Regions from separate parts of the Homo sapiens genome. Here all the other regions are linked to region 2. The links are contacts of gene promoters, found by promoter capture Hi-C in human tissues and cell types (Jung and others, 2019). All regions are on one chromosome and are shown on one strand. Each heading gives the region's core, a stretch centred on a gene start or on the middle of the fragment in contact. The rest is flanking DNA. Distances are from core to core; before and after follow the strand shown. Region 1 overlaps NIPBL (NIPBL cohesin loading factor). Region 2 holds the start of WDR70 (WD repeat domain 70). Region 3 overlaps WDR70 (WD repeat domain 70). Region 4 overlaps NIPBL (NIPBL cohesin loading factor). Region 5 overlaps WDR70 (WD repeat domain 70). Region 6 overlaps CPLANE1 (ciliogenesis and planar polarity effector complex subunit 1).

Region 1 (2,500 bases), core at 1-2,500, 380 kb before region 2:
AAAGCATATGAACCAAAACTAACACCTGAAGGTAACACGTTAGTTTATTTAATTTGTCTTTATTCATATTCTTCAGCTTCACATGTCTACTTGTAATGTGAGAATAATGAATATATTTTTCTCTCTTGCAGAAATGATGGACTCTTCAACTTTTAAGAGATTCACAGCCTCAATAGAGAATATTTTGGATAATTTGGAAGATATGGATTTTACTGCGTTTGGTAAAATCAACTTAAAATACATTTACACATACTCTAAGTGTCTTAACTGTATCCTCTAGAGTAACTCAGTTACTCTAGTGATGTGTCCTACCTTGAAATCATATACTGGTTGTTGTTGTGATCACTTGTTGCTGACAATGATAAACTTTCTAGTCTGTTATTTGACTAGCAACTGCTCTTTTCTGAATCCCTAACTATGATAAATACACAAATACTTAAGGCTTAACTCAGTTACTCTAGAGGATACAGAGGCATACTCTGTGCTATCAAGAAACTTGAAATCTAGTTGTAAAGTCAAATCTAGTCTGTTACCAAGAAATTAAAAACTTTAGTACAAAACTCAAGTATATATTAATCAAGTCTGGATAGTATCTAAAGAATCATGAGTAAGTGAGAGTAATTTAAAAAGTCTTTATGCAGGTGAGGAGGCTTGAAAAGGCCCTGTATAATGAAGGTACTGATAGGAGCATATATGCAGAAATAAGCATCTATTCTTCTGTTCATTTATTCTAATGACCAATATTTATTGAATACTTACTGTATGCCAGTAGTATGTTAAGTGCTGGAGATGTAAAAATAACTAAAACCCAAACACCTGGCTTTAGGGAATACAGATTCTAATATGGAAAACAAAATAGTAAACCAGTTAGAATACAGTAGGATTAATGTTATATTCATGTATTACTTTTACAATGACATAAAGATTACATCTATAAATATTAAAATGTTTATAAAAACACTGCTTGCAATGTATAGAGCTATTCTTAACAATCTTATGCCACCTTCAGCTGGTAAAGTAAGTATTTGTTTTGTGAGAATTACTTGCCTGAGTATCATTGTGTTTGCTGATTATTTAGAATGTCAGTTTCATCTTTTTTAAAACTTTACAGTTCTGTGCTGAGAAATTGTCTTCTGTATCATTTAGGGTCCAAAAGTACAAAGGGCACTCTCAAAATAGGATAATATGAGGAGGAGTTATTTACAAAGAGACCAGTTAAAAAGATGGAGGCAAAATAATACCAGAACCCAGGGTTAACAGCCTTAAACCAAAAGAGTGAGGATACAGAAAAGTCACCAGAACTCATTCTGCAGGAAAAAAAGTTGTAGAGTAGGCTGCCTTGAAAGAAGCAATACCTTTTGGTCAGGGGACAGAGCCAGCCTGAGGAGACCTTGTAAGCAAAGAGTAAGAGATATAAATACTTTGACCTTACACTCCTCTTTGATCTTCTAACAGGGCACCCTACTGGCCAAACCCAAACAAAAGCCAGAGGGCATGGGAGACTCTTGATGTAGTCCATTCAGGTCAGCCTCCTGAGGCAGAGAATGTGGTTGAGAAAGAGTCAAGAGTATATCTAAAGTAGTAAAGATAAGATATCTATCTCATCTTCCCATTTCAGTCATAAATCTGACTTCAATTTCTGTCCTTTTTCATTCAGGGTTTACTTGAGGTTTATATATAGAGGCGTCTTAGGTTATTTGTTTAGTTTGCATGTCTAAAAATTTTATTAGAAAGTTAAGCTTGACATTTTGAACTATTTTATTTACCTAAACTTTGTTTGTGTTTGTTTGGCTTGATTTTGCAGGTGATGATGATGAAATTCCTCAGGAACTGCTCTTAGGAAAACATCAGCTTAATGAACTTGGCAGTGAATCTGCTAAAATAAAAGCAATGGGTATAATGGATAAGGTATCTCACCAAAGTAAAATTTATAAATTTACTTCATAGAAACATTTGAAATTAATTTAAGGTTTTCAGGGTAAATTATAAAATTTATGTAAAGTAAATAGTAAAAAGAAAACTCATTGTTGACTTCTGAGAGTCTAAATGAGTTTTTTTGTTTTTTTACAAAAGAAAAAAGTATTCTGCAGATTATTCTAAAGAGAATCATATTACTGCATTGAAAGAGGCATGGACTTTAATTTTTTCCAGAGTTTTTTTTTTTCATTTTCTCAAATATTTAGATTATTTAAATGCAGAAATATATTAAATTTTTCTTTGACATTTGCTTTAGTCATTTAGGGTCGTTGAGTAGAAGTTCTAAGTGGGAAAGTTTTCTTACTCTTTAAGAGGGTGACAATGCTATTTCCTCCATAGCTCAAAGGGAATAATTGTACAGATTGTTTCTTGAATAATATATAACTTTTACCAACGATTGATAAAGAATTTATATTGCTATTTTAGCTTTCAACTGACAAAACTGTGAAAGTCTTAAATATCTTGGAGAAGAATATTCAGGATGGGTCAAAGCTTTCCACTTTGTTAAATCATGTAAGTTTAA
Region 2 (4,453 bases), core at 1,497-3,996:
ATGCCTGTAATCCCAGCTACTCAGGAGGCTGAGGCAGGAGAATCGCTTGAACCTGGAAGGCAGAGGTTGCAGTGAGCCAAGATTGCGCCATTGCAATCCAGCCTGGGCAACAACAGCGAGACTCTGTATCAAAACCAAAAAAACAAAAAAACGAATACACTACAGGCACCGTAGATTTACCCACTGTTAACCCATTTCCCATTTTCCCTGAGAATACTCTCTGATGGTGCTTGCAGCTGCAGCCTTTACCCCAAGATAACTCACAGATTACAGTCCCGACTTAACCCCCAAAGTTTGTGTCTACTATTTTATTATTTTTGCATCACTCTATTATATTGACTTTGGAAACAAAAGACATTATTCTATTTATAGCATTCTGTTTTTAGTAGTGGAATTTCCATTTACAAAATATAGTAATTCTCGACTGCTGAAAATGTCAAATCCTAGAAAACATAGCATTCCTATGTGTGATGTTAATTCCATGGTGAACTTATGGCACTGAAATGGTGTGACAACAAGGCAGTCACAATGTTGTCAATATTCCACAATGATACTGTGATTGAAGTAGACAACAGATGGAAAGAAAACTAAGAAGCCATGTGTCATTGTGGATTATAACGATAATATGGGAGCAGTGGACTTGGCTGATCAGATGCTCACTTCTTATCCAGCTTAGCGCCAAAGGTACAAGGTTTGGTATAAGATATTCTTTCATAGGCTGTGTGCAGTGGCCCACGCCTGTAATCCTAGCACTTAGGGAGGCTGAGGCGGGTGGATCGCTTGAGCTCAGGAGTTCAAGACCAGCATGGGCAACATGATGAAACCCTATCTCTACAAAAAATACAAAAATTAGGCCGGGCACAGTGGCTCACGTCTGTAATCCCAGCACTTTGGGAGGCTGAGGCGGGCATATCACTTGAGGTCAGGAGTTTGAGACCAGCCTGGCCAACATGGTGAAACTCTGTCTCTACTAAGAATGCAAAAATTAGCCAGGGGTGGTGGCAGGGCCTGTAATCCCAGCTACTCGCAAGGCTGTGGCAGAATTGCTTGAACCCAGGAGGCGGAGGTTGCAGTGAGCTGAGATCGCGCCACTGCACTCCAGTCTGGGCAATGGAGCGAGACTCTGTCTCAAAAAAAAAAAAAAAAGTCGGGTGTGGTGGCGGTCACATGTAATCCCAGCTACTTAGGAGGCTGAGGCACAAGAATCGCTTGAACCCAGGAGGTGGAGGTTCATTGAGCCGAGATTGTGCCACTGCATTCCAGCCTGGGTGACAGAGTGAGATTCTGTCTCAAAAAGAAAGAGATTCTTCTCCACCTTCTAAACGTTAAAGTGTTGAACTCCCACATTCTGTTTAAGAAGGACAATCCTGAGCACACGATTAGCCTTGTAAACTTTAGACTGACAGGCCAGGTGCAGTGGCTCACGCCTTTAATCGCAGAACTTTGGGAGGCTGAGGTGGGCAGATCACAAGGTCAGGAGATTGAGACCATCCTGGCTAACACGGTGTAAACCCTGCCTCTACTAAAAATAGAAAAAATTAGCTGGGCGTGGTGGCGGGTGCCTGTAGTCTCAAATACTAAATAGCCGGGCATGGTGGCGCACACCTGTAGTCCCAGCTGCTCGGGAGGCTGAGGCAAGAGAATCGCTTGAACCTGGGAGGCAGAGGTTGCAGTCAGCTGAGATCACGCCACTGCACTCCAGCCAAGGCAACAGAGGGAGACTCAGTCAACAACAACAACAACAACAACAAAAAGGCAGAGCGCGGTGGCACGGGGCCTGTAATCCCAGCACTTTGGGAGGCCAAGGTGGGCAGATCACCTGAGGTCAGGAGTTCAAGACCAGCCTGGCCAACATAGCAAAACCCCGTCTCTACTAAATACACAAAAATTAGCCGGGTGTGGTGGCAGGCGCCTGTAATCCCAGCTACTCAGGACACTGAGGCAAGAGAAGAGCTTGAACCTGGGTGGCAGAGGTTGCAGTGAGCCGAGATCACGCCATTGCACTCCAGCCTGGGCAACAGAGTGAGACTCTGCCTCAAAAAAAAAAAAAAAAAAAAAAAAAGCAAAGGGTGTCGCCTGTAATCCCAGCACTTTGGGAGGCCGAGGCAGGCGGATCACTTGAGGCCAGGAGTTCGAAACCAGCCTGGCCAACATGGCAAAACGTCGTGTCTACTAAAAATACAAAAAATTAGCTGCGCGTGGTGGTGGACGCCTGTAATCCCAGCTACTTGGGAGGCTGAGACAGGAGAATCGCTTGAACCCGGGAGGCGGAGGTTGCAGTGAGCCGAGATCACGCCATTGCACTCCAGCCTGGGCGACAGAGGCTCCGTCTCAAAACAAAAACAAAAACAAAAAAAAAACAAACCAAAACAAAAAACCAAAAATTAGCCGGCACCTGTAATCCCAGCTACTCGGGAGGCTGAGGCAGGAGAATCGCTTGATCCCGGGAGGCAGAGGTTGCAGTCAGCTGAGATTACGCCACTGTACTGCAGCCTGGGCGACAGAGGCTCTGGCTTAAAAAAAAAAAAAAAAAAAGGGAAAGGATGTTATAGAAACTCCAGATACTACTTCTCCCCTCCAGTGGTCTGAGTTGCGCGGCGCTTTCCCGCCTGTCCGGTAGGGCGGTGCCGCGCAGAAAGCCGCGGTCCCTCTGCGGAAGGCGCCGCTCTTGGCTTCGGCGGCGCCGCTGTAGCTTGAAGGCGGTACTTCCTCCAGCATTTGCCGCAAGTTATTGGCAAGTTCCCCTGCAGTTGTTTGGGCTGTCCCTGTGGCTGGTTCTGGGGTGTGCGGCCAGCCATGGAGCGCTCTGGGCCCAGCGAAGGTGGGTTTCATGAGGCGAGTCCGGGCGGGGTGGGCCGTGTCGGGGGAGCTGGGGCGCCGCACTAACTAGGCCGCCTCTCTTTTCCTCTTGCTCCAGTGACAGGCTCAGACGCGTCGGGACCGGACCCGCAGCTTGCGGTCACCATGGGCTTCACGGGGTTCGGTGAGTGACTGCCCCAGGCAGAGACCCTCTTCCTTGTGCAGAGGTTTGAAGATCCGCAGAGTGGGAGTGGAGATCGAGCTGTCAACTCGGAATTATTGTAGCTCGGGTGCATACCTTGCAGTTTGTCAATATTCTTCTCCCATTTGTCTTCTATTCTGCGTTATCCGTTGGAACCAACTCAGATGACAGTTATGAGAGTCTGGAGAGAGAGGAAGAGAAAGGATTTTTCTAATTTTAAGTCACCAATAATGCTAAAATGAACATTTTTGTAAATAACAGCATTTGTACGAGGATTTTTAAAAATACGTAATTCGGTAGGGTAGATTTCTAAAAGAGAGTGTAGTTTATTCAGAAATATAAATACTTAAAAAGCTGAAAAATTGGGTATGTGCCTTTTAAAGCTTCTTGATGCTTATTGCCGTAATACCCATCAAAAAACTTGTTCCAGGTTATACCAAAGTTAACAGAATTAAGAATGCCATTTTTACCATATCCCTACCAACACAGAGTAGGTATTATTATTTAAAAAGAAAATTATTTAAAAAATGAAAACAAAACTTAGTAGACTGATACATGAAAAATGATTTCTCTTTATTTTCCATTTTAAAATTATAAATGCTGTTCATCCAAACATTGGGATTCTAACTTCCCTGAACCTTTTCTCAAGGTCTTCTTGTTTTCTTTTGACCAGCGTGTATTAATTCTATGATAGTAATTAAACAGTAGACTTACACATATTGGCCTTGGGTTGTGTTCACACATACTAGTTCTGTAGTTTCTCTATTCATTCTTTTTTTTTTTGGAGACGGAGTCTCGCTCAGTCGCCCAGGCTGGAGTGCGGTGGCAAGATCTCGGCTCACTGCAATCTCTGCCTCCCGGATTCACGCCATTCTCCGGTCTCAGCCTCCCGAGTAGCTGGGACTACAGGCGCCCGCCACCTCGCCCGGCTGATTTTTTTTTTGTATTTTTAGTAGAGACAGGGTTTCACCGTGTTAGCCAGGATGATCTCGATCTCCTGACCTCGTGATCCGCCCGTCTCGGCCTCCGAAAGTGCTGGGATTACAGGCGTGAGCCACTGTGCCCAGCCTTTTCTATTCTTTTTTTATTTTTTGAGATGGAGTCTCGCTCTGTCACCCAGGCTGGAGTGTACTAGTGCGATCTTCGCTCATTGCAGCCTCCTCCTCCCAGGCTTAAGCCATCCTCCCACCTTAGTCTCCTGAGTAGCTGGGACCACAGATGTGTGCCACCACACCTGGCTAATTTTTTATACTTTTGGTAGAGACGAGGTTTCACCATGTTGCCCAGGCTGATCAATCTCCTGAGCTCAAGCAGTCCGCCCACCTGAGCCTCTCAAAGTGATTACAGGCATGAGCCACCCCACCCGGTATAAATCCTTCATTTTAGTACATCATTCCTTTACTCAGGAGTGAGAAAGTTGTCCATATGTTTGTGCCAAATAGGGGAAAATTT
Region 3 (4,434 bases), core at 942-3,441, 370 kb after region 2:
TTATTGAAAGAAAAACAAGCAGAAAGTAACAACAACAGCATCAACAACAACAAAAAGGCCCCACAAAAACCCCATCCAAGGGTCAGTAGCCTCGAAGACCAAAACTAGACAAACTCATGAAGATGAAAAAGAGTCAACAAAAAAATGCTGAAAACCCACAAGGCCAGAGTGCCTCTTCTCCTCCAAATGATTGCATCGTCTCTCCATTAAGGGCACAGAACTGGATGGAGGATCAGAGGGACAAATTGACAGAGGTAGGCTTCAGAAAATGGGTAATAAAAAGCTATGATGAGCTAAAGGAGCGTGTCCTTACCCAATGCAAAGAAGCTAAGAAGCTTGATAAAATGTTGGAGGAGGAATTGCTAAACTAGAATAACCAGTTTAGAGAGGAACATAAATGACCTGATGGAGCTGAAAAACACAGCACAAGAACTTTGTGAAGCATACACAAGTATCAACAGCCAAATCAACCAAGCAGAAGAAAGGATATCAGAGTTTGAAGCCCACCTTACTGAAATAAGACATGCAGACAAGAATAGAGAAAAAAGAATGAAAAGGAATGAGCAAAGCCTCCAAGAAATATGGGACTTCATTAAAAAAACGAACCTATGATTGATTGGAGTACCAGAAGAAGATGGAGAGAATGGAAACAAGCTGGAAAACACACTTCAGGATATTTTCCAGGAGAACTTCCCCAACCTAGCAAGACAGGCCAACATGCAAATTCAGGAAATACAGAGAACACCACTAAGATATTCCAAGAGAAGATCAACCCCAAGACCCTTAATCATTGGATTCTCCAAGGTCGAACTGTTAAGGGCAGCCAGAGAGAAAGGCCAGGTCACCTACAAAGGGAAGCCCATCAGACCAACAGCAGACTTCTCAGCAGAACCTCTACAAGCCAGAAGAGATTGCGGGCCAATATCCAACATTCTTAAAGGAAAGAATTTTCAACCCAGAATTTCATATCCAGCCAAACTAATAAGCTTCATAAGCGAAGGAGAAATAAAATCCTTTCCAGACAAGCAAATGCTGAGGGATTTTGTTACCACGAGGCCTGCACTGCAAGAGCTCCTGAAAGAAGCACTAAATATGGAAAGGAAAAACCAATACCAGCCACTGCAAAAACACACCAAAATATAAAAACCACTGACACTACGAAGAAACTGCATCTAGTGTGCAAAGTAACCAAATAGCATCATGACAACAGGATTGAATTCACACATAACAATACTAACCTTAAATGTAAATGGGCTAAATGTCCCAATTAAAAGATAGACACAGACTGGCAAATTGGATAAGGAGTTAAGACCCATTGGTGTGCTGTATTCAGGAGCCCCATCTTATGTGCAAAGACACACACAGGCTCAAAATAAAGGGATGGAGGAAAATCTACCAAGTAAATGGAAAGCAAAAAAAAAATGGGAGTTGCAATTCTAGTCTCTGACAAAGCAGACTTTAAACCAACAAAGATCAAAAAAGGCAAAGAAGGGCATTGCATAATGGTAAAGGGAACAATTCAACAAGAAGAGCTAACTATTCTGAATATATATGTATCCAATACAGGAGCACCCACATTCATAAAACAAGTTCTTAGGGACCTACAAAGAGACTTAGACTCCCACACATTAATAGTGGGAGACTCTAACACTCCACTGTCAGTGTTAGATCAACGAGACAGAAAATTAACAAGGAAATTCAGGACTTGAACTCAGCTCTCGATCAAATGGACCTAGTAGACGTCTACAGAACTCTCTACCCCAAATCAGCAGAATATACATTCTTCTCATTTCCACATGGCACTTATTCTAAAATCGACCACATAATTGGAAGTAAAACGCTCCTCAGCAAATGCAAAATAACTGAAATAATAACAAACAGCCTCTCAGACCTCAGTGCGGTCAAATTAGAACTCACAATTAAGAAACTCACTCAAAAACCACACAATTTCATGGAAATTGAATAACCTGCTCCTTATTGACTCCTGGATAGATAGTGAAATTAAGGCAGAAATAAAGAAGTTCTTTGAAACCAATGAGAACAAAGAGACAATGTTCCAGAATTTCTGAGATATAGCTAAAGCAGTATTAAGAGGGAAATTTCTAGCACTAAATGCCCACATTAGAAAGCTAGAAAGATCTCAAAACGACACCCTAACATCACAATTAAAAGAGCTAGAGCGGCAAGAGCAGACTAATCCAAAAGCTAGCAGAAGACAAGAAATAACTAAGAGAAGAATTGAAGGAGATAGAGACATGAAAAACCCTCCAAAAAAATCAACAAATCCAGGAGCTGGTGTTTTGAAAACATTAACAAAATAGATAAACTGCTAGCTAGACTAATAAGAAGAGAGAGAAGAATCAAATAGATGCAATAAAAAATAATAAAAGGGATATCACCACTGACCCCACAGAAATACAAACTACCATCAGAGAATACTATGAACACCTCTGAGCAAATAAACTAGAAAATCTAGAAGAAATGGACAAATTCCTGGACACATACACCCTCCCAAGACTAACCCAGGAAAAAGTTGAATCCCTGAATAGACCAATAACAAGTTCTGAAATTGAGGCAGTAATTAATAGCCTATCAACTAGAAAAAGCCCACAACCAGATGATTCACAGCCAAATTCTACCGGAAGTACAAAGAGAAGCTGGTACCATTCCTTCTGAAACTATTCCAAACAATTGAAAAGGAGGGACTCCTCCCTAACTCATTTTATGAAGCCAGCATCATCTTGATACCAAAACCAGGAAGAGAAACACACACAAAAAAGAAAACTTCAGGCCAATGTCCCTGATGAACATTGATGCAAAAATCCTCAATAAAATACTGCCAAACCGAACCCAGCAGCACATCAAAAAACTTAATCCATGTCATCAAGTCAGCTTCATCCCTGGGATGCAAGGCTGGTTCAACATACGTAAATCAATAAACATAATCCATCACATAAACAGATCCAAAGACAAAAACCAAAAACATATTTACAAGAAAAAAACAAAAAAGTGGGCAAAACATATCAACAGACACTTCTCAAAAGAAGACATTTACGTGGCCAACAAACGTATGAAAAGAAGCTCAACATCACTGATCATCAGAGAAATGCAAATAAAACCACGAGATACCATCTCACACCAGTCAGAATGATGATTATTAAAAAGTCAGGAAGAATAAATGCTGGGAGGCTGTGGAAAAATAGGAACACTTTGATTATCTCAGTAGATGCAGAAAAGGCCTTAGATAAAATTCAACACCCCTTCATTTTAAAAACTGTCAATAAGCTAGGTATTGATGGAACATATCTCAAAATAATAAGAGCTATTTATGACAAACCCACAGCCAATATTACATTGAATGGGCAAAAGCTGAAAGCATTCCCTTTGAAAACTGATACAAGACAAGGATGCCCTCTCTCACCACTCCTATTCAACGTAGTATTGGAAATTCTGGCTGGGGCAATCAGGCAAGAGGTATTCAGATAGGAAGAGAGGAAGTCAAGTTGTCTCTGTTTGCAGATGACATGATTTTATATTTAGAAAACCTCATCATCTGAACCTAAAAACTTCTTGAACTGATAAGCAACTTCAGCAAAGTCTCAAGATACAAAATCATTGTGCAAAAATCACAAGTATTCCTTTACACCAACAGTAGACAAGCAGAGAGTCAAATCATGAATGAACTCCCATTCACAGTCACTACAAAGAGAATAAAATACCTAGGAATACAGCTAACAAGGGATGTGAAGAACCTCTTCAAGGAGAACTACAAACCACTGATCAAGGAAATATGAGAGGACACAAACAAATGGAAAAACATTCAATCCTCATGAATAGGAAGAATCAGTATGGTGAAAATGGCCATACTACCCAAAGTAATTTATAGATTCAATGCTATTGCCATCAAACTACTGTTGACATTCTTCACAGAATTAGAAAAAACTATTTTAAATTTCATATGGAATCAAAGAAGAACCCCGTATAGCCAAGACAATCCTAAGCAAAAAGAACAAAGCTAGAGGCATCACGTTACCTGACTTTAAACATACTACAAGGTTACAGTAACCAAAACAGCCATATAGACCAATGAAGCAGAACAGAGTCCTCAGAAACCTACACATCTACAACCATCTGATCTTCGACAAACCTGACAAAGACAAGCAATGGGGAAAGGATCTCCTATTCAGTAAATGGTGCTGGGAAAACTGGCTAGCCATATGCAGAAAGCTGAAACTGGACCCCTTCCTTATACCTTATACAAGAATTAACTCAAGATGGATTAAAGACTTAAATGTAAAATTCCAAACCATAAAAACCCTAGAAGAAAACCCAGGCAAGACCATTCCTAGGACATAGGCATGGGCAAAGACTTCATGACAAAAATGCCAAGAGCTATTGTAACAAAAGCTAAAATTGACAAATGGGATCTAATTA
Region 4 (3,354 bases), core at 1-2,500, 420 kb before region 2:
CTGATAAGATTCTTGTAGTTTAATATGTAACTAAATTCCTTGAGAATTAGACAAAGCTTTAAGTGTATTTTGTTAAATATGTTGGAATATATCAGTTTACTCAGCTTAAAAATTTTTTTGTTTTAGAAAATCAGAATTAATTTGAAATAAGTCTTTCATTAATTAAATAAATATTTGCAAAGCTTTTGAACATGTACATTGTAGCAGGTATATAGAGTTTTAATACTGATTGTGATTATATTCATGGTTTTCTAGTAATTGATTTAATACTCCTGTTGCCTTAGCAACAGAAAAATTGGTTAAGTATTATTATTAAAGAAAAATTGATTCATGGTATTATAAAATAATAAAAATATTACATCCAACACAGATATAATTTTTATGTAGTCATGGAGTACCTTTGGGTTAAGAGCATTGTTCTGTTCAAGCTTACTGAATTTGACAAGCCCAAGTGCCTGTTTGGCTCTCAAGATTAAAATAGGGCAGGAATAGCTTGGACAACTTCAGAAAGTTCAACTTTGTTAATTAAATAATTGTATTTAAGAATTTTATCAGCCGGGCATGGTGACTCACGCCTGTAATCCCAGCACTTTTGGAAGCTGAGGCAGGTGGATTGCCTCAGGCCAGGAGTTAAGACCAGCCTGGGCAACATGGTGAAAACCTGTCTCTACAAAAAAATACAACAACTAGCCAGGCATTATGGTGTGCGCCTGTAGTCCCAGCTACTTGGGAGGTTGAAGTGGGAAGATCGCTTGAGCTCAGGAGGTCAAGGCTGCAGTGAGCTGAGATTGCACCACTGCCTTCCAGCCTGGGCGACAGAGCGAGACCCTGTCTCCAAACAAAAAGAAAAAATAAATAAAATAATTTTGCCAAATTCATTTTGGTTTTGGTTTACTTTGTTGGCAGCACTTCCATGATGCTTCCCATTCTGTTTCCTTTAAATAATATTGCTTTGCTGATTCTGTGTACTTGTGTTGTTTGAATGGTATTTTGAAAGCAATTGCATAGTTACTATTGATTCCTCAAAATGCATAATGGGGATGCTTCTGACCGACTTGCCTTTTAGCAAGTTGAAGGTAGGTATGCACGACAGGGCTCTGACTTCACCAGAACTAATAAGTTAGATTGCAATAGTAGGAGACAGATATAAATAATGAAGGAAGCTAGAGTTATGACGGCTTTCTGGAAAAATGTTGGAATTGAAAGAAAATGTGGAAAGAGAGTTGAGTGGAAGAAAGACTAATAGAGTAGGAGTATTAGTTTTATGAGAATGTGAGTAAATCTAATATTGGATAAATGAATCTAAGGCTACTAATACTACATTTTTGCAACTTACATTTTTGAGTATTTGGGTAGTAAATCACTCTGATAAAAACTTTTAGAGTGTTCACCTCTCAGTCACATATTTTGTGTTTTATACTACATATACTTGTTTTTTAGTCCAAAATATTGTTTGATTTCTGTATACCCTACTTTGTAAAAGCATAAACTAGCATTTAAAATTAATCAATTAATTGCATGTTATTTTTTTTTTTAAAGCATTTTCCTGGTGATATATGGCTTTGAAATTTTAAAAGTTGGCTGGGCGTGGTGGCTCACGCCTGTAATCCTGGCACTTGGGAGGCCAAGGTAGGAGGATTGCTTGAGCCCAGGAGTTCAAGACCAGCCTGGGCAATGCAGAGAGACCCTGTCTCATTGAAAAATAAAAAATAAAAATAAAATAGAAATTTAAAAAGTTGATTTTGGGGTTGGTAAGTTTAAATATGAGTCATGCATGTGGAGAAAATTGTAATAAAATGCAAATCACTTTAATCATAGTTCTTTGGAACTTAGAATTAATTGAAAAGGACTGTTAGAATTTCATTTACCCGTTTTATTTAGAAAGCCATTGCTTTCAAACTAGTAATTCCAGTTTGTCCCAGTGATGGCTGTTAATTCAGGGGGGAAAAGCTTTTTAACTCCTGTCTCATTGAGTGTTCATCTCCCTCCAAAAGAAAAAGAAAAAAAAAAAAACCTCCAGCAACAATAATTATAGTAATTAAGCTATTAAAGCTATGGAGCAAAACAATTCTGTGCTGAGTTTGAGTTGGAAAAGAAAAGTCAGAAGTTGAAATTTAGACTACATACTTAAGAAAACACCCTTCAATGGTAGACTTAGAGGCGATTTTGAAACCTAATTTCATTCAGCTACAATCTCTTTTGTAGTACTCTTAGCAAATCAACTTCTGTTTGAATATTTCTAGTGAAAGCCACTTTTTATAACAACAGCAGGAAATGAAATTTGGAAATACAATTTGATGCTTGCAGCTGCCAAAAAAGAGATTGGCTATAGAAATCATAAGAAAATTCAGGGTGTTATTTGTAGATTTTTATCTGATTTTGAAATGTCTAAATAAGTGAATTTTTCTGTGTCTCCCATATAATGAAATGTCATGTGAATAATTGAGAAATAATGTCTAGCTTGGAAATAAATGTAAGAACCAGAATGCTCTTCACAGGTTTTTATTTTTTAATAAAATATTCCGTTAATCCCTACTATGTGACAAAGAGTTATTGTGAAAGAAGGAATAGGTACATTCTGTTTTGCTTCAGAAGACATTCAGGTGGAAATTGCAGGAATTCAAACTTTCGGCCCATAAATAAAGTACTTTTCAAAACCTGTGTCTGAACCATGATAATACAAATAGCTTTGTGAAATTAAGTTCCCAAGCATGAGAGATGTATATGATAAAATATTCATGTAATAAAAACTACCCTGAGTCCCGTTGTAGAAGGAAGTGTATTGTGTTAGGTGCGAGGTTAGATAAGACAACTTTTAAAAAAATCTTTTCAATTCTAAGGCTAAATAATAGAATATTGAGTAAGCAAGTAAATTTTTTTAAAATATTATAATCTCTGTTTCTAGTCCTGGATTAGTTTTATGGAAAATGGTGTTGTAATAAAATTGTTCTTGAAATTTACAGTTTTACAGCGTCTATATTTTGCTCTTTGAAATGAAAACATTGATCAAAAAAATCTCTGGAATGTTTGAAAGAATAACTGATTTCAGTTATTTAAAGGACACTTTACTGTTAGAAGAAAATAACGTTCTGTATTTTTGTGTTTTGCATAGGAATGATGATGTCTCAGTATAAACTTTCTCAGAATTCCATGCACAGTAGTCCTGCATCTTCCAATTATCAACAAACCACTATCTCACATAGCCCCTCCAGGTAATATATGTATATATCGTTTATTAAATATTGTCTTGTATGGTGAATATGCTGGTGAATATATGGTTCATACATTTAGGTAATGGTGGATTATTTAGAGTTTAAATAGTTGAAATACTTAAATAGTAATCCACTTTGCATT
Region 5 (4,636 bases), core at 472-2,971, 290 kb after region 2:
AAAAAAAAAAAAAAAAAAAGGTTCTATAGTCAAATAAGCTTTAGAAATGTTAAGGAGGTTGATTTATTCTAGGACTACTACTTAAAAGACTTTGGCTTTTAATATACTCATGTTTATTGTGAATCTTCAAGACAAGGCCATGGTGTGCAAATAAACTCTAGTTTCGCAGGCTTACTTGGCTGTAGTCCCCTAATATGATGATGTTACAAAAACAAACAAAGCAAAACAAAACAAAACAAAAAACAATTCTCTAGGAACCCTTGCTCTTGGGCTTTCTCTCTGGAAGGACTTTCTTTCTAAATCATTCCTCTTGGTGATTTAGGTGATATCCTCATTTGGAGACCTACAGAATATCATATGAAATTCTGTGTTAGTTGTATCATTTTTTTCCCAGTAAAAATTATATTTTGCTTAGCATCAGAACAGTAAAATATACCAGATATTTAAGTCATCTAATCAGATAATATCTGCCTTTTTGAATGATTCTGTATGATGTCTGAAGATTATAAATTAGAGTCTCAAAGTCCAAGAAAGACAGGATGTTTCATTTCATGCCTTCTTGAAATTCTAAAAGCATGGGTCTTCTGTAGGACTTAAAATGTTTTTTTGCATTCAGATTTCTGAAGCATAAATTTAGAGTGCCTAAGTGATATACCAACTGGTCTCAACTAGGGTTTATAAGAAGAGAGATTAATGTGAAGGTAACTTGTGCATTAGCCATAAGGGGTTTGTTTTATAGACTAAAGTAAACACCTTCAATTTCAAGTTGCAAGCACACAGGGAGCCAGAAGATTCCAGAGCGGTGGCATCATATTCTGCCTGTGACTCACACATCTAAGTGGTTGAGCTTTCTCCCGCAGCTGCAGCTTCCAGCTGGTCATCAGTTAGAGTCCTAGGTAGTCACACACTGTGGTCACCTGGTTTGAGATGACCAAACAGGCATATAATTACAACATAGGCCAGTTATGAATGAAGGCTGGGTTATCTCTTTGCCAAACACAGATAAAAAATAAATGCTAAGTCATAGCTGTTTTCTGAAATCCCAGTGGTTGCAATAGTGAACCTGGACTGAAAGTAGAGAACCCTCCTGGAAGATTCCACCCTGGTTGTAAATGCACACTCTCTTTCTCATTTGTGAGCTTCCTCATTAATGGCATAGAGCATTCTTAGCCATTTTGGTGCCCTCCAAAATGCCTGGTTTATAGTTGGTGCAATAAATGTTTTATGAAAGAATATGAGGTCATACATGTTTTCCCCCTTTCCCAACTTGCAAATTATTTCAAGAAAATTCTGTATTTTCTTTTTATTTATATATCTCAGTGTTGTGTGTATAACAGGTTCTCAGTAAATGTTGTTGACATTGTAAATGTAGATTCCAAAAACTTCCTTATTTCACTTTTACATTATGGGGATGCTGAATGGACTTTTCAGAAATCTTTGTCAGATCCCACTGTCTTTTGTTTTTAAATTATTTCTTTAAAAGAAAGGAAGGAAGGAGAGAGGGAAGGGGGAAAACATCTTGACCTGGAACATAATTATCTTTTTTTTAAAAAAAAAAAAACATTTTGTTTTCTTTAGAGTCAGGGGTCTTGCTCTGTAGCCCAGGCTGGAGTGCAGTGGTGCAGTAATGGCTCACTACAGCCTCAAACTCCTGGACTGAAGCTATCCTCCTGGGCAATGAGTGAGGCAGTCCCAGATTCTCCTCTTACCACCTGTGTTGTCAGACCACTGCTGGTACCACTTGTGTTAGTCTGGGTCCTCTGAGAAGCAGACACCAAGACAGGATTAAATGTGTAAGAGATTTACTGGGGAGTACCTAGAAGGGAAATTGGGGAGGGAGCCAGAGAAGTCTGGAGAGAGTCAGACCATGATGTAGACCATGCGTTTGTGAAGGAGAGAGGAAAGAATGGAATATTGAATATCCATCAGCTGATGAATGGATAAATAAAATGTGGTACATCCATACAGTGAAATATTATTTGGCAATAAAAAGAAATGAAGTGCTGATACATACTGCAACATGGACGAACCTCAAAAACATTACGCTAAATGAAAGAAGCTGTCACAAAAGGCAGCATGTTTTATGATTTCATTTGTATGAAGTGTTCAGTTTAGGCAAATCTACACAGAAACTAAATTAGTGGTTGCTTAGGACTGAAATATTAAGAAAAAAAAGGGAGTGATTGTGATTGCTCATGTGTATGGGGTTTCCTTTTGGGGTAGTGCGAGGTTCTAAAATTGATTGTACTGGTGGCTGCGCAACTCTTGGAATATACTGAAAACGTTGAACTACATAGTTTAAGTGAGCAAAGTGCATGGTATGTGAATTGTGTCTCAATAAAAATCTTATATCAAAAGAAAAGAAAAAAAGGGGGAGTATATGCTGAAAGGATCTTGGACTACTGCACGATGCTAAGAAAGTTTTGGCCAAGCTAACTGGAATTCCATTTATCCTCCACACTCAGGCCTTGCAAAGCATACTCAGTGACAGAGGCAGCGAGAGTGTCAGTCATTTATGCTTTTCACGATGGGAGGTGTGAGAGGCTACATTTCTCATAAGCCAAAGCAAGTCGCGTGTCCATACCAAGATACAAAGTATAGAGAAACAGATGCCACATCTTGATAAAAAGAACAGCAAAATTATATTGTAAAGGGGTGTGCCACATTTTCAGTAACTCATTAAATTTTCCCAGCAGCTTATGAAGTGGGTACTATTACTATTCTCATTTAATAGTTGAAGAAACAGGCATAGGAAGATTAGCCCAAGATCATATAGATGTGACCTTGGAATCACAAGTAATTGTGACTACTTGTAAGTGGAAGAGCCAAGATTTGATCTCAGCAGTCTGGCTCTATAGTCTGTGCTCTTCATCATTATACCATACTTTCATATAGTATATTAATTTGAATGTCACAAAATCTATTAGAGATATTTTGTTATCCATTTTCCCTCACTGAAATGAAACCTTCACGGAATGGGGTCTTTATTTTGTTCACTGCTATATCGCCAGTGGCTGGGACAATATTTGGCATGTAAATATTAGTTGAATTTATATGGATTTGCAAAGCACCTTTATATGACAGTTCTATACTTGTATCCGCATTGTCCTTCCTACAGGTCTCTAAAATCAGAGAAACAGGAGAAAGTTATATTCAGTCTAGACCTGGATTTATTTTATTTTTTAAATCTTGGCATATTGGAGTACTTTAAATCCTGGTATAGTAAGTAACCCTAACATGTGATTGAAAACATAGAATTATTGGAATTGTTTGGTTACCACTAAGCTTGAAAACAGATTCCCAATGAGGAGAAAAAACAATTCTATTGAGAGGTCATAGGGATAGGTATGAGAGGACAGTCAAATGTTGGTACACCCAGTTTGTTAGGTAGCCTAGCGTTTGGCTCATCTTATTATTGGAATTTGTGTTTTGCAGCATAGTTGCATTTTAGGACCTTTCTGAGAAGAGGTACGCATGATAGACTTAATAAACCTGTAGTATTGACATAAGACAGGGAAATAGCAGATTAACTGTAACTCAGTCTTTTTGTGAGTGGGGGAGAAGGGCAGGGGTGGGAGGTTGCAAGGCATATTATTTTAAAGATTAATAAACTGAAAACTGGAAAAGTCTAGCAGCTTGGCCAGGATCAAACTTAAATGTAGTAAGCTAAAATTTTAGGTCAAGTAGTCCTAGCCCTAGGACTAGTAATCTTTCTATTAATATTTTCTCTATTTTCAGACAGTAATTCATTTAAATTCTTACCTTTGAAATAGTTTTTTCCACTGTTTCTATTTCTTATGAGAGGCATTTTGACCATTTTGAAGACTGTCTTTCTCCTGCATTGATAGATACACTAGAGTAATAGGCAGACATTGGTATCTAGGCAGCTACTGGATATAAACTGACTGACTTTTGGTACCACTGTAAAATGTTAAGATTATTGACAATTTCCAGAGGTGGCATATTTAGGGCTTTGTGGAACAGGCGTGGTGGCTCACACCTGTAATCACAATACTTTGCTGGTTTTTTGGGGGGGACTTTTCCTGTAGGGAAAAAGAGATCAGACTGTTACTGTGTCTATGTAGAAAAGGAAGACATAAGAAATTCCATTTTGATCTGTATTTGAACAATTGTTTTGCCTTGAGATGCTATTAATCTGTAACTTTAGCCCCAACCCTGTGCTCACAGAAACATGTGCTGTATGGAATCAAGGTTTAAGGGATCTAGGGCTGTGCAGGATGTGCCTTGTTAACAATATGTTTACAGGCAGTATGCTTGGTAAAAGTCATTGCCATTCTCCATTCTCAATTAACCAGGGTCACAGTGCACGGTGGAAAGCCGCAGGGACCTCTGCCCAAGAAAGCCTGGGTACTGTCCAAGGTTTCCCCCCACTGAGACAGCCTGAGATATGGCCTCGTGGGAAGGGAAAGACCTGACTGTCCCCCAGCCTGACACCCGTGAAGCGTCTGTGCTGAGGAGGATTAGTAAAAGAGGAAGTCCTCTTGTGGTTGAGATAAGAGGAAGGCCTCCGTCTCCTGCATGTCCCTGGGAACGAATGTCTAGGTGTAAAACCCGCTCGTACATTCGTTCTGTTCTGAGATAGGAGAAAACCACCCTGTGGCTGGAGGCGAGATAT
Region 6 (4,525 bases), core at 541-3,040, 270 kb before region 2:
GTAAAGCTATCAAGAACATACAATGGGGAAAGGATACTCTCCTGTTCAATAAATGCTGCCAAGAAAACTAGATGTCTATTGCAGAAGAATGAAACTACACCTGTATAAATCACATATAAAAACCAAAATAGATTAGACTTAAATATGAGACCTGAAACTATGAAACTACTTGAAAGAAACATTTGGGAAACATTTCAGGACACTGGTCTAGGCAGAGATTTTTTCTGAGTAAAACCTCAAAAGCACAGGCAATGAAAGCAAAAATTGACAAATAGAATTACATCAAGCTGAAAAGCTTCTGCACAGCAAAGAAAACCATCAACAAAGTGAAAAGACAACCTAAAGAATGGGAGAAAATATTTGCAAGCTACCCATCCAGCAAAGGATTAATAACCGCAATATATAAAGAACTCAAACAACTTAGTAACAAAAAAGAATCCTACTACAAAATGGACAAAATATCTGAATGGACATTTCTCAAAAGATGACATACGAATGGCCAACAGGTATATGAAAAAATGCTCAATATTACTAATCATCAGAAAAAAGGAAGTCAATACCATAATGAGGTATCGCTGCACCCCAGTTAAAATGACTAATAGTCATTTTATTTATTTATTGCTGGAATAGTCATTTCCAGCAAAAGATGGAAAATAAATGCTTGTGGGCATACAGATAAAGGGGAATGCTCATACACCCTTGGTGGGAATGCAAATTAGTATAGCAGCTATGGAAAACAGTATGGAGGTTCCTCAAATAATTAAAAATAGAACTACCATATGATCTAGCAATCCCATAGCTGGGTATATATACAAAAGAAAGAAAATCAGTATATCAAAGAGATATCTGCACTCCTACATTTATTGCAGCTCTATTCACAACAGCTAAGATATAGAATTGATATAAGTATCCAACAATGGATAAATAGCTAGAAGAAAAGGTTTGAATGTTTCCAACACAAATAAATGATAAATGTTTGAGGTGATGAATATCCCAATTACCCTGATTTGATTGCTACACATTGTATGCACATATCAAAATATCACATGCACCCCATAAAAATGTACAACTATCATGTATCAATAAAATACCCATAGAATATACAAAAAAGAAACTAACAGAAAACAATTTAAAATATTTTAAATGACAAAACAATTAAATGACAATTAACAATAATGTTAGCCTATAAAGCTATTTTCTAAAACAATTTGGTAAGGAGAGTAGCATTGTTTTATAGTTCTACAAATCTCTTTAATGTTTAGCTTGATAGAAGGCAGCTGAATTACCATACCTGCTTCTGCATTCAACTTGCTGCAATACATGTTGTAAAACCTGGCTTCACACAGGTAGATATTTGGAAAAAGAGGGGTATTTAATAGCTTTTTCAGATGATAGTGTGCTTTTATATTATACCAAACATTGATGAAGTAGTTGAAGGATACTGGTTCTTAGTCAATTCTCATAAAAATTATCTCTTAAAACTATGACATTATTGGAGCACAATACCAAAAACTAATCAGGTCTCTGTACCATGGTTCTTACAAATTTAAGATGAGCCTTCTAGAGGCCGGAGTCATATTCCCTTACTTTCCTGCCCAAAGCATCCATTCCTGTTTCTTCCTCCAAGGCTTCAGGCTACAGGGCAGAAGACAGAAGATCTCCTGGCCTCCATGAAACTTTGCTTATTTAGAGATTCAGGGTTGGTAAAAGGTAGTTGGTTTTTCTTTTCACTCCTAGGCTAAACCCTGCATAGGTGTTTTAAAATAGGGTTCATAATTGAGTTCTCAGGTGAGACTGATTTTCTTCTCAATGAAAAGATTTTTTTTTTTCCTATTAGATTCATCTGTATATGGTTGTTTCTCAAAACTCAGAGGGTAATAAAGGAGGAGGCAAGATAGAGGGTTTTTATTGAAAGTAGGTTATGCAAACTTGGCTTGAAAGGTACTTATCATTTTAAAAATTATGCCTAATGATGCATCAAATACAAAAACATATAATACATCAATAGTCAACCCTTTCCCCATAAAGGCAAAGTTACTGAGAAATGTTTATTTTTCCTCTGGTAATGGCTAATCCAGGTAATAATATGAAAGCAAATGGAAAATTCACATTGCTTCTTTCATTGCTTCTGTCCCTTAAACCTGTTAATCTTTCAGAACCACATTACTGAGGTGCTGGCCTGTGCATGGAAACCCAATGATATCCAGGTCTTACAGGTCCAGGGCCCAGTGGACAGACAGGCCCTGGTCCTCCACGCTGGCCACCATGTCTTCGATGGCATTCCAGTCCAGCTTGCTGAGGATGCTGCCAGTGCTCTCAGACACGCTGTCCACACCGCCCACCCCAAAAGGATGCTCTGGCTCTTCCTCTTCAGTTGGAGACAAGTCCTATTAAATTGAAAAGACAATTGTGGTCCTAGCCCCTAAAAACAAACAAAAAAACAAAAACAAAAAAACCTGGAACGTGAACTAAGCTTTCCAAAAATTCTAGAGTTGCTCATCCATCAAAAGGCTGAAGGAAATGTGCCAGGAAATAGGGCTGTGATTGCCCAGCACATCCAGATGGACAAGAGCTGAACATCATCTCACACAACGAGATGCTGGCACCAGATGTGAAGACAGGGCAGAACGGATGTTGATACTTGTAGTACGATTTTATGTTCTTACATTTTGGTCATTTTTTAGTTAAAAAATACAGTCACAGAGAAGTCTGAAAGACAAATGCTGAAGTACTAAGCCAAAAGGGAAGATGCTTTGCATCACGATTTCAAACTGACCTAACAACTTTTCAGTATTTCCACATCCCACAAAAAACAAACTAAAAAACAAACAAACAAACAAACAAAAAACCTGAAGAACATAGAGCAATCACTAGACAAACAAAATCTAGAACAATGCTTACTTGTAGAAGGGAATTGTGACTCTCATGAAGAATCTTATGGATTTCTGAAGGTATCGTCCAGGGACTCACCACAGTCTCCTCTCTTTCATACTCTACACACACCTGCTTGGTTTGAGGTGCAAGCCCAGCACTTCCATGTTTTTTTGTATGCTGCAGACTATGACACGGAGCATTAGAGCCTTTTAAGGGATAAGAACAAAGCACACATTGGGATTGATTCATTCATTCATTCATTCATTTGTTAATTGTGACTTTTATCATCAAAGCCAAGGTAGTCACATTTTAAATAATATTTGAATCACAAGGTCTGGAAATGGTTCACTTTAGAGTTCGAACAATTCCTGTCCTGTCACTGTACGAGATGGAAACTGAATTCCAGCCTTTGGATTTGAAAACTATTAGTAATTAATCTTTAAGACAAGAAAATCTAGGGAGGAGAGGCCACAGATATAACAGAACGGTGGAGAGGTATTGACACCAAAGTTGGGTGAACTCTGAGACCTGGGCCTTCCCTGTCTTTTACAGAAAGTCTTGTGAAAACTTCTTAGAAGCAATGTTTTGGGCATCTTCACCCAGGCTTAATGCTTACAATCTGCCTTTAGGCAAAGGCATCACAGTGAGTGTGGTGACAATACATTATGACCCTCTTTCTTCTTACTGCATATATCAGTATTTGTTGAAAAGAAATTTTCATTCCAGCTAATGCCCAGAGGCAGCTTAGTAAACCCACAAACCAATAAGGTTTCTCTGCACAAAGCCCTAGAGGAGCCTACCTCACCTAACACAATGTTCCAAAGCCAATATCACAGCATGTTCTACCCTTCGAGGTGATTTCATGAAGAAACACCCAAGACATGGGACAAGATGGGAAGTAAATATAGATCCCAAACAAGCAGTCATGTGGCTCCCTGAAGAGGGGAGAAGAGGTATGACAATGCTGAAGTTTGGGCCCTCTTTGTCTTTTGTAACTCTACCAACCTTATGTACTTGAAGCTGAAGATATCTCCAAGAAATAAAGCCCCCAAAATAATCACAGCACACACTTTGGCATTTAGTATAGGCTAATAAGCACTTTTACATTCAGTCCCTTGAACTTACCAGACATTCATGCCTGGTCTTTAGATTTTCTAACACACCTCTGCTCTCCCTAGCTAACTTCATTTAGTTCCATGGCTTTAAATATCACCTACATGCTGACAGCTCTCTAAAACCTGTACCTCCAGTCTCATAAAGCTAATTGCCCCTTCTTAAAATCCTTGCTTGGATGTGCAATAAACATCTGAACTTTAACATGTCCAAAACCACACTGTTAATTTTTACCCCTAAACTGCCCTATCCCAGGAAATGCTCAGGTTAAAATCCAGTATATCTTTTTTGTTTTTTGAGACGGAATCTCACTCTGTCCCCAGGCTGGAATGCAGTGGTGCAATTTCGGTTCGCTGCAACCTCTGCCTCCCGGATTCAAGCGAGTCTCCTGCCTCAGCCTCCCAAGTAGCTGGGATTACAGGCATGCGCCACCATGCCCAGCTAATTTTGGTATTTTTAGTAGAGATGGGGTTTCACCATATTGGCCAGGCTGGTTTGGAACTCCTGGCCTCAAGCGATCGGCCTGCCTCAGCCTCAC

Evidence for each region. The method cuts DNA at HindIII sites, captures the fragments that hold promoters and counts their contacts. A contact is called where the count stands out against the background at its distance.
Region 1: a fragment that was not itself captured here is called in contact with the fragment with the promoter of WDR70 in region 2 in 1 of the 25 tissues and cell types used here (lymphoblastoid cells).
Region 3: a contact is called between a fragment that was not itself captured here and the fragment with the promoter of WDR70 in region 2, in 1 of the 25 tissues and cell types used here (lymphoblastoid cells).
Region 4: a fragment that was not itself captured here is called in contact with the fragment with the promoter of WDR70 in region 2 in 1 of the 25 tissues and cell types used here (heart right ventricle).
Region 5: a fragment that was not itself captured here is called in contact with the fragment with the promoter of WDR70 in region 2 in 1 of the 25 tissues and cell types used here (IMR-90 fibroblasts).
Region 6: a contact is called between a fragment that was not itself captured here and the fragment with the promoter of WDR70 in region 2, in 1 of the 25 tissues and cell types used here (lymphoblastoid cells).

What each region holds. Positions count from the first base shown.
Region 1 is chr5:37,000,858-37,003,357 of GRCh38, forward strand. NIPBL (NIPBL cohesin loading factor) reads left to right here. Exons shown (of 47, transcript NM_133433.4): 13 at 1-31; 14 at 132-221; 15 at 1,805-1,908; 16 at 2,404-2,490. Among named protein-coding and RNA genes, the nearest start is that of NIPBL, 130 kb to the left of the region's middle. The HindIII fragment of the contact is 4,085 bases long and covers 1-2,500 here.
Region 2 is chr5:37,376,572-37,381,024 of GRCh38, forward strand. It overlaps WDR70 (WD repeat domain 70), which reads left to right and starts at 2,747. Exons shown (of 18, transcript NM_018034.4): 1 at 2,747-2,821; 2 at 2,918-2,983. The coding sequence starts at 2,797. The HindIII fragment of the contact is 7,487 bases long and covers 1-4,453 here.
Region 3 is chr5:37,744,193-37,748,626 of GRCh38, forward strand. The region is part of intron 17 of WDR70 (WD repeat domain 70); the gene reads left to right. Among named protein-coding and RNA genes, the nearest start is that of GDNF-AS1, 93 kb to the right of the region's middle. The HindIII fragment of the contact is 8,823 bases long and covers 1-4,434 here.
Region 4 is chr5:36,958,372-36,961,725 of GRCh38, forward strand. NIPBL (NIPBL cohesin loading factor) reads left to right here. Exons shown (of 47, transcript NM_133433.4): 5 at 3,113-3,212. Among named protein-coding and RNA genes, the nearest start is that of NIPBL, 83 kb to the left of the region's middle. The HindIII fragment of the contact is 5,778 bases long and covers 1-3,354 here.
Region 5 is chr5:37,667,853-37,672,488 of GRCh38, forward strand. The region is part of intron 10 of WDR70 (WD repeat domain 70); the gene reads left to right. Among named protein-coding and RNA genes, the nearest start is that of GDNF-AS1, 170 kb to the right of the region's middle. RefSeq lists an enhancer at 675-969. The HindIII fragment of the contact is 5,236 bases long and covers 1-4,339 here.
Region 6 is chr5:37,105,392-37,109,916 of GRCh38, forward strand. It overlaps CPLANE1 (ciliogenesis and planar polarity effector complex subunit 1), which reads right to left. Exons shown (of 53, transcript NM_001384732.1): 52 at 2,902-3,080; 53 at 844-2,387. The coding sequence ends at 2,211. Among named protein-coding and RNA genes, the nearest start is that of CPLANE1-AS1, 140 kb to the right of the region's middle. The HindIII fragment of the contact is 5,050 bases long and covers 1-4,315 here.